Linked DNA regions of Homo sapiens: region 2 is linked to region 1. The links are contacts of gene promoters, found by promoter capture Hi-C in blood cells and fetal thymus (Javierre and others, 2016). All regions are on one chromosome and are shown on one strand. The core of a region is centred on a gene start or on the middle of the fragment in contact, and the rest is flanking DNA. Distances in the headings are between cores, read along the strand shown. Region 1 holds the start of ACBD3-AS1 (ACBD3 antisense RNA 1). Region 2 overlaps ENAH (ENAH actin regulator).

What was found. The method cuts DNA at HindIII sites, captures the fragments that hold promoters and counts their contacts. A CHiCAGO score of 5 or more calls a contact.
Region 2: a fragment that was not itself captured here is called in contact with the fragment with the promoter of ACBD3-AS1 in region 1 in 1 of 17 cell types (neutrophils); the score reaches 6.7 in neutrophils.

What each region holds. Positions count from the first base shown.
Region 1 is chr1:226,143,698-226,150,287 of GRCh38, reverse strand. It overlaps ACBD3-AS1 (ACBD3 antisense RNA 1), which reads right to left and starts at 2,285. Exons shown (of 2, transcript NR_146443.1): 1 at 2,220-2,285. It overlaps ACBD3 (acyl-CoA binding domain containing 3), which reads left to right. Exons shown (of 8, transcript NM_022735.4): 8 at 3,467-5,609. The coding sequence ends at 3,678. It also overlaps the pseudogene LOC124904586. The HindIII fragment of the contact is 12,330 bases long and covers 1,385-6,590 here.
Region 2 is chr1:225,501,305-225,507,568 of GRCh38, reverse strand. All of the region lies in intron 11 of ENAH (ENAH actin regulator), which reads left to right. Among named protein-coding and RNA genes, the nearest start is that of LINC02765, 37 kb to the right of the region's middle. The HindIII fragment of the contact is 6,843 bases long and covers 863-6,264 here.

The DNA of each region.
Region 1 (6,590 bases), core at 1,036-3,535:
CAGTCTGGGCAACCCGTTTTGTAGAGTGACACCACATCTCGACAAAAAAAATTTTTTTTTAGTTAGGTGGGTGTGGTGGCATGTACCTGTAGTCCCAGGTACATGGGAGGCTGAGGCAAGAGGATTGCTTGAGTCCAGGAATTCGAGGCTGTAGTGAGCTATATGATCACACCACTGCATTCCAGCCCGAGCGACAGAGCTAGGCCCTCCCTCTAAAAAAAAAAAAAAAAAATTAAAAAAAATAAAAAGCAGTTAGAGAGCAGGACTGTAGCAGATTAGCCAGGGGGCACTACTGTTTTCTCATGTGACCTTCAACAACATCAGAACCTGTTCTGTCCTTTCTGTTGCATCACAGGGACTCATTAAAGTCAGACTGTCTGCAGATGTCTGGGAAGGAAAGTTTTTTGTATGCATACAAATTACTGTACTTACAAAGAGCTTTGTGAGGCCAGGCACGGTGGCCCCTGCCTGTAATCTCAGCACTTTGGGAGGCCAAAGCGGATGGATTGCTAGAGCTCAGGAGTTCAAGACCAGCCTGGGCAACATGATGAAACCCTGTCTCTACCAAAAATACAAAAAACTAGCTGGGTGTGATGGTGTGCACCTGTAGTCCCAGCTACTTGGGAGGCTGAGGTGGGAAAATTGCTTGAGCCCAGGAGGTAGAGGTTGCAGTGAGCTGAGATCAAGTCACTTCACTCCAGCCTGGGCCACAGAGCCAGACCCCATCTCAAAAAAAAAAAAAAAAAAAAAAAAAAAAAGATGGCTGGGCGCAGTGGCTGACACCTGTAATCCCAGCACTTTGGGAGCCTGAGGTGGGTGAATCACCTGAGGTCAGGAGTTCAAGACCAGCCTGGCCAACATGGTGAAACCCCATCTCTACTAAAAGTACAAAAATTAGCCAGGCATGGTGGCACATGCCTGTAATCCCAGCTACTTGGGAGACTGAGGCAGGAGAATCGCTTGAACCCGGGAGGTGGAGATTGCAGTGAGCTGAGATCGTGCCATTGCACTCCAGCCTGGGCGACAGAGCCAGACTCCGTCTCAAAAAAAAAAAAAAATGAAAGAGCTTTGTGAATAAGAATTCTCTGTTCAGAAGTTGGTTGAGGTAATGTATTTCTCCTGGCTTGCCTATTAGAGAGCTTCTAAAAGGTGGTTACTGCCTAGTCTGAACCCTCAGCTGATGATAGTTTTGGGGTTATATTGGTGTTGGGAAGATCACTAGTGAAAATGGCAGGGGTTCATTTCTAGAGGTAAGAACCTTAATATCCTTGATCTTAGTTCTAATATGTCCCTCAAATGAAAGATGGCATTCCCTGTACTTGTACCATTCCTAATCATAAAATGATTTGCAGCTAAAACATTTTAGCCTCACAGCAGTGAAGCTTTATCATTCCTAAGAATTGTTCATTACATGAGCGTCACTTCATCCCATTTAAAGATTTAGCTCACAAATTGTATTTGTCCATATGCCTTAGAAGCTACTGTCCTACCGTGTCTTGTATTTCATATGGTAGAAGAGTCTGAGTTTTTTGGGTTTTGGTTTGGTTTTTCTTCCTTAGGTCTTGAAAGGTAGACAGAGGAGTTTGCTTTCTCTGAAGAAGCATGGATGGTAACACATCCTCCTGTTTTAATTCTCCATTTTCTTCATTGTTTACAGGTCCTAAACCTTGGCTTAAATTCATAAAAGATGCCTTTTCATCTATCCCAGTAATCTTTAGTTTTATAGATTTAAAACAAAATTTGAGTCTTGAATCAATGGACCAGTCTATTTCTTGGATGTCAACAATAGTGTACATTTTGGATGGTTCTGTATTTCTCATTTGCATGTGAAACATGCTTAATTATAGGTATTTCTGTGGTTAAGTAAATCTGGTTTTGACCTACCTTTATAAGAGTGCCATCTGCTTTTTTAAAATAAACTTTTAATTTTAGAATAGTTTTAGATTTACAGAAAAGTTACAAAGATAGCACAAAGAGTACCCATATACCCTGCACCAAGTTCCCTCTGTTGTTAGCATCTTACATTGTACTGTGGTGCACTCATCACAGCTAATGAAACAATATTGATACATTGATTCATTAATTAACTAAAGTCCATATTTATTCAGATGTTTTTAGTTTTTACCTAATGTTCCAAGATCCTTTCCAGGATGCCACATTATAGTCAGTCATCATATCTCCTTAATCTGCTATAGACGGTGAGAATTTCTCAAACTTACCTTGTTTTAAATTCCTGATAGTGGCCATTGACAAGCATCACTCAGTGTGTTGCCAGAATTCACTCTGCCATGTTATAAACCTGAAAATCCATGCCTGTAGTCCCAGTCTCTTAAACAAACAAACAAACAAAAACAACAACCATAAACCCGAAAGTCTTGTCTTCTGTGCTGAATACTCCCTTGACCTCTTTGAGCTGGTTTGTATTAAATATGTTAAACTGTGACTTCGAAGCTGGTTCATAATTTTCTCATTCCTGTAGGTTTCTAGAGGCATTTTTTTTCCTAACCTCATAGCATTACAGTTCAAAAAACTCTTAACCGGGGCAAACCTTTCAGAGCCCATTTTTTGCCACTTAGATCATCTCTGGGTTAAATTGGCCTAGTGAAAATAATTGAATTTTCAGAGTATCTCTGAATGCCTATCTCTCTACTATGATTTTTTCATTTTACTGCTTATATTTAAGATATACAGAAAGCAATAGTCCTCACAAATCATCTTCCATCTTTCTAAAATGGGGAGGACTCATATTGGTCAGAAGGAGGATGATGAGAGCAACATTTTCATGTTACTCAGATGAGTGAAATTCCTGAGGATGAATTAGGAATTGAATGGCTATGGAAAGGGGAAAATGGGACCTTGAAATAGGAATGGTAGTAAGCACAGAAAGAGATAGGATGCTGACCACTGCTACCACTAGATGTTCATCACTGGGCTCCCAGGGCTCAGAACAGGGTTTGGTGTATAGCACATACTTAGGTATTTGAATGAATGAGTGAATGAATGAATGAATGAACGAACTAATAAATGCTCACATGCACATAACTTGTTAAATGGTTCAACAGAATTCCCAACAAGAGCAGTTTCTCAAAGAAAGGATAGGCTGGGCACGGTGGCTCACGCCTGTAATCCCAGCACTTTGGGAGGCCGAGGCAGGTGGGTCACAAGGTCAGGAGATTGAGACAATCCTGGCCAACATGGTGAAAGTCCATGTCTACTAAAAATACAAAAATTACCTGGATGTAGTGGTGCACGCCTGTAATCCCAGCTACTTGGGAAGCTGAGGCAGGAGAATCGCTTGCACCCAGGAGGTGGAGGTTGCAATGAGCTGAGATCACGCCGCTGCACTCCATCCTGGGTGACAGAGCAAGACTCTGTCTCCAGAAAAAAAAGAAAGGATAGATTTTAATTGCCTGATGCAAGTGTGGTTTTCCTGAATCTGTTCATTGACTTGTCTCTGTTCTTACAGAAAACATCGGTTGTGAAGAGAAAGCCAAAAAGAATGCCAACAAGCCTTTGCTGGATGAGATTGTGCCTGTGTACCGACGGGACTGTCATGAGGAGGTGTATGCTGGCAGCCATCAATATCCAGGGAGAGGAGTCTATCTCCTCAAGTTTGACAACTCCTACTCTTTGTGGCGGTCAAAATCAGTCTACTACAGAGTCTATTATACTAGATAAAAATGTTGTTACAAAGTCTGGAGTCTAGGGTTGGGCAGAAGATGACATTTAATTTGGAAATTTCTTTTTACTTTTGTGGAGCATTAGAGTCACAGTTTACCTTATTGATATTGGTCTGATGGTTTGTGAACTCTTGCTGGGAATCAAAATTTCCTTGAGACTCTTTAGCATTCATACTTTGGGGTTAAAGGAGATTCCTCAGACTCATCCAGCCCTTGGGTGCTGACCAGCAGAGTCACTAGTGGATGCTGAAGTTACATGAGCTACATGTTAAATATTTAAAGTCTCCAAAATAAAACACCCCAACGTTGACCTTACCCGGCTGATGGTTAGCCCCTTGCTGCCTGCTCCATGTGTCTTATGAGAGCCCGTAGTTACAGTGTCCTCTAATTTGAAATCCATAAGTTAACAAGTCTATATCAGGTGCAGCTGGCTTTGATTAAAGGCCATTTTTAAAACTTAAAAACTCAACACCTCACAGATTATAATAGAAAAAGAAATGGCCTCAGTTTGATCTCGTTCAGAATGACCCAGATTGTTTCTGCTTTGGGTGCAGCTGTTTAGTTCAGAGTTATATTACAGAGAATTATTTTCTGAGATAATCTTAAACTAGAATGTTCAAAACTAATTGATAATTGAAGTATCAAGATACGTAGAACACCTCAGAGATTTTTCTTCAGGAACTTCCACAAACTTTGAATCCTTGTATCTTTATTTGGTATTCATACTACTAGTAGCAAAATACAGGTTTTTTGTTTTGTTTTGTTTTGTTTTGGCTTCATAGAGTATCTCAAATTGAAACTTTTCTGCACAAAGAATAAAATTAAGGATTTTATAAACTCAAATTGGCACCTACTGAATTAAAATACATAAAATCATTTAAATATAATTCAGCATATGGGAAGTAACATTGCACTAATATGGAAATCACTGCCAGAGACAGTCTATTTTCTTTTAATTTGTTACTACTTAGTCACAAACCCCACATTATTCCAGTTTGGAATTACTTATTAAGGAGAATTGGAAATACATATGCCCATGCTTAAATTTTATAGCTTTAATTTGTGTTATTTCTTTATTGACGGGAAGAGGTACATCTTTTTTTCCTTACTGAAAACAAATATGGATTAATTGCCTCAAATTTGTATAAGTGATTGGCTAGTGATTCTTGTTTTCAGAAGGGAGAGTGGTATAGATAGAAAATGACAAAGATGGCAATATACACTTAATGTTGTTATTGTATGTTGTTACTGAAGTACTTAGATTTTTAAAATTTCAAATCCTAAATCACTTCTTGTAGGAGGGTTTTCATTAACTGCAGTATATACAGTTCACTACATATGGGTTGTTTGAGTTTTTTGTGTGCTGTATTTCTTTCTGTTTTTTAATACCTGGTTTTGTACATATCTAACTCTGTTCTCTTTTGGTTGTTCAGAAACTGGATTTTTTTTTTCTTAAGCAGTGCTTAATTTGTGTTTTTTAATTTTGATTCAGAAGTAGTCCCAGCTCATAGGTGTTCATACTGTTACATCCAGAACATTTGTCAGGCTCTCTGTCAGCTTTCATGTACATATGGTATAGAAACCATGGAGTTAGGCACTTCCTGGATTTTTTTTTTATGAGAAAAATACTGTATTTAAAATGTAAAATAAACTTTTAAAAAGCAGGCACTAATATATATTTCTTCCAGCCTTTGATTACAAATTTGTCCTTGCACATGTTAAGATGAATTATCTCCTAAAAATATCATTGTTCTTGGGAGCAGTGTATGTTACTTTACATAGCAGCGGTTCCTGTCATGTGTTCATGTCAGAATATTTTTGGTTTTAAACTTTCTTATTGCCTTTGGCTGTTGATTAGTACAGTACAAGTGCGATTTCAAAAAGATCTTGAAAGTAATATATTTAATCAATTAAAATGTTTATCTGTAACTTGTTGATGTTTCATTAATATAGTTACTCTCTGAAGCATTAGTACAGTATTTCAACATTTGGGTAGGAGAAAAAGAAATGTTTCAAACATCTTTTTTGTTTTAAAAGGCTCTAGTTGAAAAACAACTCTTTCTGGCCAATTATTTAGTTTTACTATTAATTACCTTAGTGAGTTAAAATAGATTTAAATTTTTCCACACTTTTAAATGCAAAGGCTAGCACTGATTTTTCTTATTGAAAATGACTAGGTTATAAAGTTGTTTCTCTACACTACCATGTATGTAGTGTGTTCCATTAAATATGTGGACCCCACACACTTTAATGGATCTCCAGAGGCAGAGCCCTCGCTTGCTCAGGGTGGATGATTGCAGAGCACTTGTGGGGAAGTGCGCGATCAGTGTGATGTGGAGTCCCAGAATGAGGTTGCTACATCCAGATGACCCCACTGATAGGCAGGGTGACTGGCATAATTTTTTTCTTTTGAAATCTGGGGAGACAGATGAGGTGACCATCTTGGTTATTTTTGCTGTGTGGGATACCATAAAGCCAGACTGAAGACGCATTAAGGAGAGCAGTTGAGGTAAGCACATCTTGGAAAGTATGCTACCGAGTCTTGACCATCTATCTTTTGGAGCAGGAGAAGCAACCGGTTCAAAATAATAAATAATTGCTAATAATTCATTAGGGCTTAAAGTTCAACAGTCAGGGGCCGGGCGCGGTGGCTCACGCCTGTAATCCCAACACTTTGGGAGGCCGAGGCGGGCAGATCACGAGGTCAGGAGATTGAGACCATCCTGGCTAACACGGTGAAACCCCATCTCTACTAAAAATACAAAAAATTAGCCAGGCGTGGTGGCGGGCACCTGTAGTCCCAGCTACTCGGGAGGCTGAAGCAGGAGAATGGTGTGAACCTGGGAGGCGGAGCTTGCAGTGAGCCAAGATCACGCCACTACACTCCAGCCTGGCTGACTGAGCGAGACT
Region 2 (6,264 bases), core at 3,035-5,534, 640 kb after region 1:
ACACTTTTTTCCCCTCTGATTAGTTTGAAAGCAATTCACAAATAAGAACTGTTTCACCCTAAATACTTCAGTGTTTTTTGGAAGAACCAGGACATCTGCTATGTAACCACAATACCATTATTACTCTCAAGAAATTTAACATTAAGCAATAATATTATCTACTATAGTATATAGTCACATTTCCCCATTAGTTCCAATGACATAGATTTTATGTATATATATTTATGTATATATATAATTTTTGGAGCCTTTTTTAAACCTGAATATCAGCTGGAGAGAAAAGAGAGCAAAATAAAACATACATCTTTGAATTTGTAAAGTAGAAACATGTATTTCCCTATCTCATTTGAAACTTGTAAGTGTAATCAAGTTAGAAAAGATAGTATCCAGAAACAAGGCTAGTTAATACTTGTTTCTACAAGTACATGTGGGCATATTTAGGCAAATTTGTTCTTCCTTTAGCTAGGCATACTTTATTTTCATGACTAAATTTATATCACAGCTCCTGAACATAGATGAAACCTTTTCTTGGTTTATGAGACAGTTTAAAGGACTTGTATTTTTCCCAGAAAAAAAAAAAGTATGTATTTAGAAACTAAAAGGTATTTTGTCTTTTCTTTCTGAGCTATTTGCCTTATTTTTGTCTCGTAAAAAGCAACTTGACTCTAATTATAGAAACCTAATAAAGATAAGTACAGGGATAGACTTTATATTATCACAGACCTGTTCTGTGTTAGTCTAAGTCTGAATTTGGATTTGGCTTCCTATGTGGTTCTTTCTGCTAGTAGGAAAGAAGATTTGGTAGTGACACAATTGTTTAAGCTCCACAAAGAAACTAGGCCTTTTGGAATGTATAAAAGCTTTTAGTTTCTAAGTGATTGAAAGATGATCATATTTTACTTTAGAAGAAAGGGGGAATTGCTTTTGGTGGACATGTGTTTTCAGTAGAGTAGAAAAATTGCACATTTATGTTTCTCAGACTCCTAACTGAGATGGCCTTCTAACACATCTCTACTAGTTACGGATTTTCTTCAGTAGCACATTATGAAGTGCTGATTTATTAAGCCCATAACAAGGAGCTGGCTAGGCGTGGTGGCTCATGCCTGTAATCCCAGCACTTTGGGAGGCTAAGGTGGGTAGATCACTTGAGGTCACGAATTTGAGACCAGCTTGGCTAACATGATGAAACCCCATCTCTACTAAAAATACAAAAATTAGCTGGGCATGGTGGCGCACACCTGCGATGCCAGCTACTTGGGAGGCTGAGACACAAGAATCACTTGAACCTGGGAGACGGAGGTTGCAGTGAGCTGATATCGCGCTATTGCACTCCAGTCTGCAGACCTGTCATGTGTCATTTGTCCTTTCTCTTCATCATGCTTCATTGATCTGCATTTCACAGTGAACTAAAAGCTAAGCCTACGTTGATGGCAGAAGTCATGTCTTAGAAGGGACATGGACGAGGTTCTCCAAATGGAATACATTCTTTGATGTATTTGGTCCATTTAGTAAAGGAAAAGTTGTTCTTTGAAAGATTTTTTTATTTTTCCTAATTCCAGGGTAGGGAAAAAAAGATTTTTTTTTCAGACTTGGAAATTTAATAAGTGCTCTAAAGGTCACCATTTTGAAAATAATTTTATATAGATGAGTTGAATCTTGATTCTTAATATCCAGTAGTGCACCATAATCATGTTCCAATTCTGTTAGGTGGTTTTCCTTCCCTTTCCCAAAATAGAAATTCTGGAACTCCTGATTATTTCCTGACCACTCATATATCTTTTGATAGATTTGATCCAACTACTGATATATAGGTTTTAAAATTTCACCAAAAGCTGTTTTAAACCATAAAGGATTTTTAAAATATGTTTAAAAGAGTAAGAACTATATTGCTTTTCTTCCTAAGTTATCTCTCCTGTTCCTTCGGAAAGCAAGTGTATTAAGTATGTCTTATCCTTGCATTGTAGTGAAGGTCCCCATTTCTCTTTGGAATAGCTTTGTCAAAATTACGTTAGTGGTAAGATGGATTAATGTCCCATAATATGCATGAGATATTGCATATTGCTGTATTTGTTAAGTGAATATGTCAGAGTAAAAGCAAGACTGTTTGGTTAAAAATGCTTTAAACTATGACTGGATTATAACGTTTGGGAAGTTGGTGCATTCATCTGTGGTTATTAAGACCTTACAGATCTTGTATTCAAGATGGGAAAACTAGTCCTTTACATGCCTCCTGAGAAGAGTTAATTTTGTATACTTTTATATACTTACTGTGCCTACAACCTATATAAAAAGTAGCCATTGTGTAATGATTTTTAAAATTTTCTGTAACTGGTATCTTCACATAACTAAAAGTAATCTTAAAATATCTTTTATTGGGGAAAAATTGGTTATTTTAAGGTTAATAGACTCAATTCTTGTTTTGTTTGCTATTAACAACCTATAAAACAGTAACATAATGAGAATTATTTTTTAAAGTTCTATTGTGTATCCCTTTCAATGGTTTTCCCCTTCATAGACGGGATTCTCCAAGGAAAAATCAGATTGTTTTTGACAACAGGTCCTATGATTCATTACACAGGTATCATCCTGCTGTGACGTTGTGATTTGAGACTTTTAAATAACATGTTCAGGATAGGGCTGAGCTTTTTCTACCTGGATTGGTAATCACCACAAGGGAGATTTTTTTTTCTTTATTTTGAATACCTTTTAAAAATTCTGCCATCACTTCACAGTTGGATTCAAGGATAAATACAAATGGTAAACATATTAGAAATACTAGACTGGGAATCTAAGGCCACATGTATTATCTAGGCCATTTGTAGCTTAAGCGTTTTCTTTTAAAGGCTGTTCGCCTTATGATTATAAGACAAGGTTTCAAAAAAGTTGAATAGAAGATCCTTTTCCATCTGTTACTGGAACATGGACTAATATTAAAGCCATGGTTGTGGATAATTGATTATTTGAGGAAAATCTCTGTTTCCTAGATACTTTGTAGTAAATTATCTTGGACAGTTTAACATCTAACACCCTGAGTAGATTGTTTTCTAGGATGAGCCCTATTATACCATTTTTTAATTAAGAAGACTTAAGAACTAGTTTTTTCTTAATTAAAAAAATTGACAGCTAAAAATAATCCTGCAATGCTTTTCAGTTACTTACACAATTAATTTGACAGAATAGGGACTTAAATATAGTAGTACAGTCATTTTATAGGCAGATGTTTAAAGGCAACGCTCTCATCATAAAAAAATAAAAACTGACCCAGCACCTGGTGGTTCACACCTATAGTTTCAGCACCTTGGGAGGCCAAGGCTGGAGGATCATTTGGGGCCCGGAGTTCAAGACCAGCCTGGGAAACATAGCGAGACCCCATCTTTACAAAAAATAAAAAAAAATTAGCTGGGCCTGGTGGCTTGTGCCTATAGTCTCAGCTACTCAGGAGGCTAAGACAGGAGGATATCTTGTGCATAGGAGTTAGAGGCTGCAGTGAGCCATGATAACACCACTGCACCCTAGCCTGGGTGACAGAGTGAGACCCTCTTTTAGGAAAAAAAAAAAAAAGTGAAATAAAAACCTGAGAAACCCTCATTTTGTGATCAATTATGATGAAAACCCATAGGTTAGAAATAACTGAAATATATTTATGTTATTTTACACATCTATTTTTTAAAAAAATATACATCAAGTTCACTGGGAATATGAATTAAGTGGTGTTCATAGTGGATGTCTATTGCAGTGAGTTGGGAGTTCTGTAAGCAGACTCTGGCCAAATTCTTACTTGCTAAAATTATTTTTATGCTATTAATGATCAAAATACTTGACAAGTTAATTTTGTCAGCCAGTTAAATCTTCACAAAATGTTTATATTCCAGTAGTGAAATAGTTTTGTGTTTTTTTTTTTTTTTTTTTTGAGGTGGTTTGTTTTGGCCAAAAGATTTCTTTAGAAAATTTGCTAGTACATAGAAAAGTAGCATTTAACAATGAGATTTTTAAGGCTGGGTGCCATGGCTCATGCCTATAATCCCAGCACTTTGGGAGGCCGAGGCAGGAGGATCACTTGAGTCCAGGAGTTTGAGACTAGCCTAGGCAATGTGGTTAAACCCTGTCTCTACAAAACATACAAAAATTAGCTGGGCATGGTTGCATGTGCCTGTGGGAGGCTGAGGTGGGAAGAAGACTTGAGGCCAGGAGGTCAAGGCTGCGGTGAGCTGAGATCATGCACACTGCAGCCTGGGTGACAGAATGAGACCCTGTGTCCAAAAATACATATATTTTTTAAATGTAGTAAATCTGCTCAGTTATCTTGCTGCTTTCACACATAGTACCCCCTGGGATAATGTTATTGATAAACTTTTTTGGTAAAAGTTAAGAAAAAAAGTGGTGATTACATCTTTCCTTCAGTATGAAAAGTTCCCCCCTTTAGTTAATTATCATGGTGGTGGTGGTGGTGATGGATTGCATGTTAGCATGAATTAAATTTTTAAAAATTTGCATGTTTCCACAATTGTTTATTACATAACAATAATTTTTGCATTGCCTAGTAAATATGGATATATTCATAACATACTTGCCCAATTAAATAGCAGGCTGTAGTTCATGTGAATTTCAGAGGTATTCATTATATAACTTGAGAAAATAACTAGCTAAATGGGCCACTTAAATGGGAAATGTAAAAGAAAAGCAGAGTATGAATTATAGTTTAATTCTAGAGAACAGGAATAGGTAGCATGAGTGAATATATGAAATAACATCCTAAACTTTAAGAATATTTGCCAGAAGTGACTCTGCATTTTATGGATCTAAGTAAATCTTAAGTGACCTTGGAATTTAGTAGTCTTCCCTAGCAAAGTAAGAAGGTGTAGCCTCACAAGAGGAAAGGAAATATTTCATATAAATATTATTCCCTACAGTGCCTAGCTCAGTGCTTATTGAATGAAATTTTCTGGAAGTTATTTTTCCCCCTATTCATATAAGCAGATACCTAATAAAGTAAAATTGGACGACTTGCTTCCTAACAGTCTTTTAAGCAGTAATACGTTTTGATAGTAAAGCAGATTAACAGGCTGGGCGTGGTGGCTCACACCTACACCCAGCAATTTGGGAGGCTGAAGTGGGCAAATCATGAAGTCAGGAGTTTGAGACCAGCCTGGCTAACATGGTGAAACCCCGTCTCTACTCAGAATACAAAAAAATTAGCCAGGCATTGTGGTGCACCTGTAATCCCAGCTACTCCAGAGGCTGAGGCAGGAAAATCACTTGAACCGGGGAGGCGGAGGTTGCAGTGAGCCAAGATCGCACCACTGCACTCCAGCCTGGGAGACACAGCAAGACTGCATCTCATAAACAGCAGCAACAACAACAACAAAAAGCAGATTAACTCAGTGTTTAATCTTCAGGAACCATGCCTATGGGTTTAAAGTATTTTATGTCTTATAAGAATTATAAATTATAACTTTGAAAAATTTATTATGCCTTTTGGGTCTTGCTTCAGATTGCTAACATTGGTACTCTGCAAAATTGGGAATATATGATTTGCCTGATGGTTTTAAATTGCATTTATTTGTGGCTCATAAAGGAGGGCATTTACTAGACTAAACCAGAACCCGGAGGAGTGCCCATTTAAAACTCTAGGTTTTCCACTGGGGACTCTTTTATTGCCGGACTTGGAGAGGGCGCCATGACTGGTTTATTTGGTGTTGAAACTTGTTTAAAATATACCTAATCATTGACTTATTAAGAATTATAATAGAAACTAAACTTTTGAAAGTGCAATAATAATTGACAATCTGCTTCTGTCTGGCATATCCTTTTTATTTAATAAAATAAATTTATGGAAGTAGTTAGCCTGAAACACACCATTCAAATGACGTCTCCATAAAAATTTCACAAGGAAATAGTCACATAGTCTAATCTAATAAACATTTTTAAAACATTTTTTATTTTGATGCTTGAAATGGAATAATATGTATAAAGCAAATCATGCTCACTAAAAATGTTTTCTTCCTGCAATCCAAGGCATCAGCTTTGTAAGCTGATTTATGTTAGTGTAAAACATTCAAGTCTTTATGTTTCTCCTTTCACTGGTTTGTCCAGGTATTTAAGTAGATAATGTAAAAGTTCAAAAGAAAGACAAAACAAGATTGTGTTATTTGAGCCTCAGATGTTTCAGCTGGCCTCTTCATCACTGTTTTGGTCAACGTGCCACGTTACCTGGTTACCTCATGCCCAAAGAATACTGTCTTCTACTCTTTTCTGAAGAAGTCT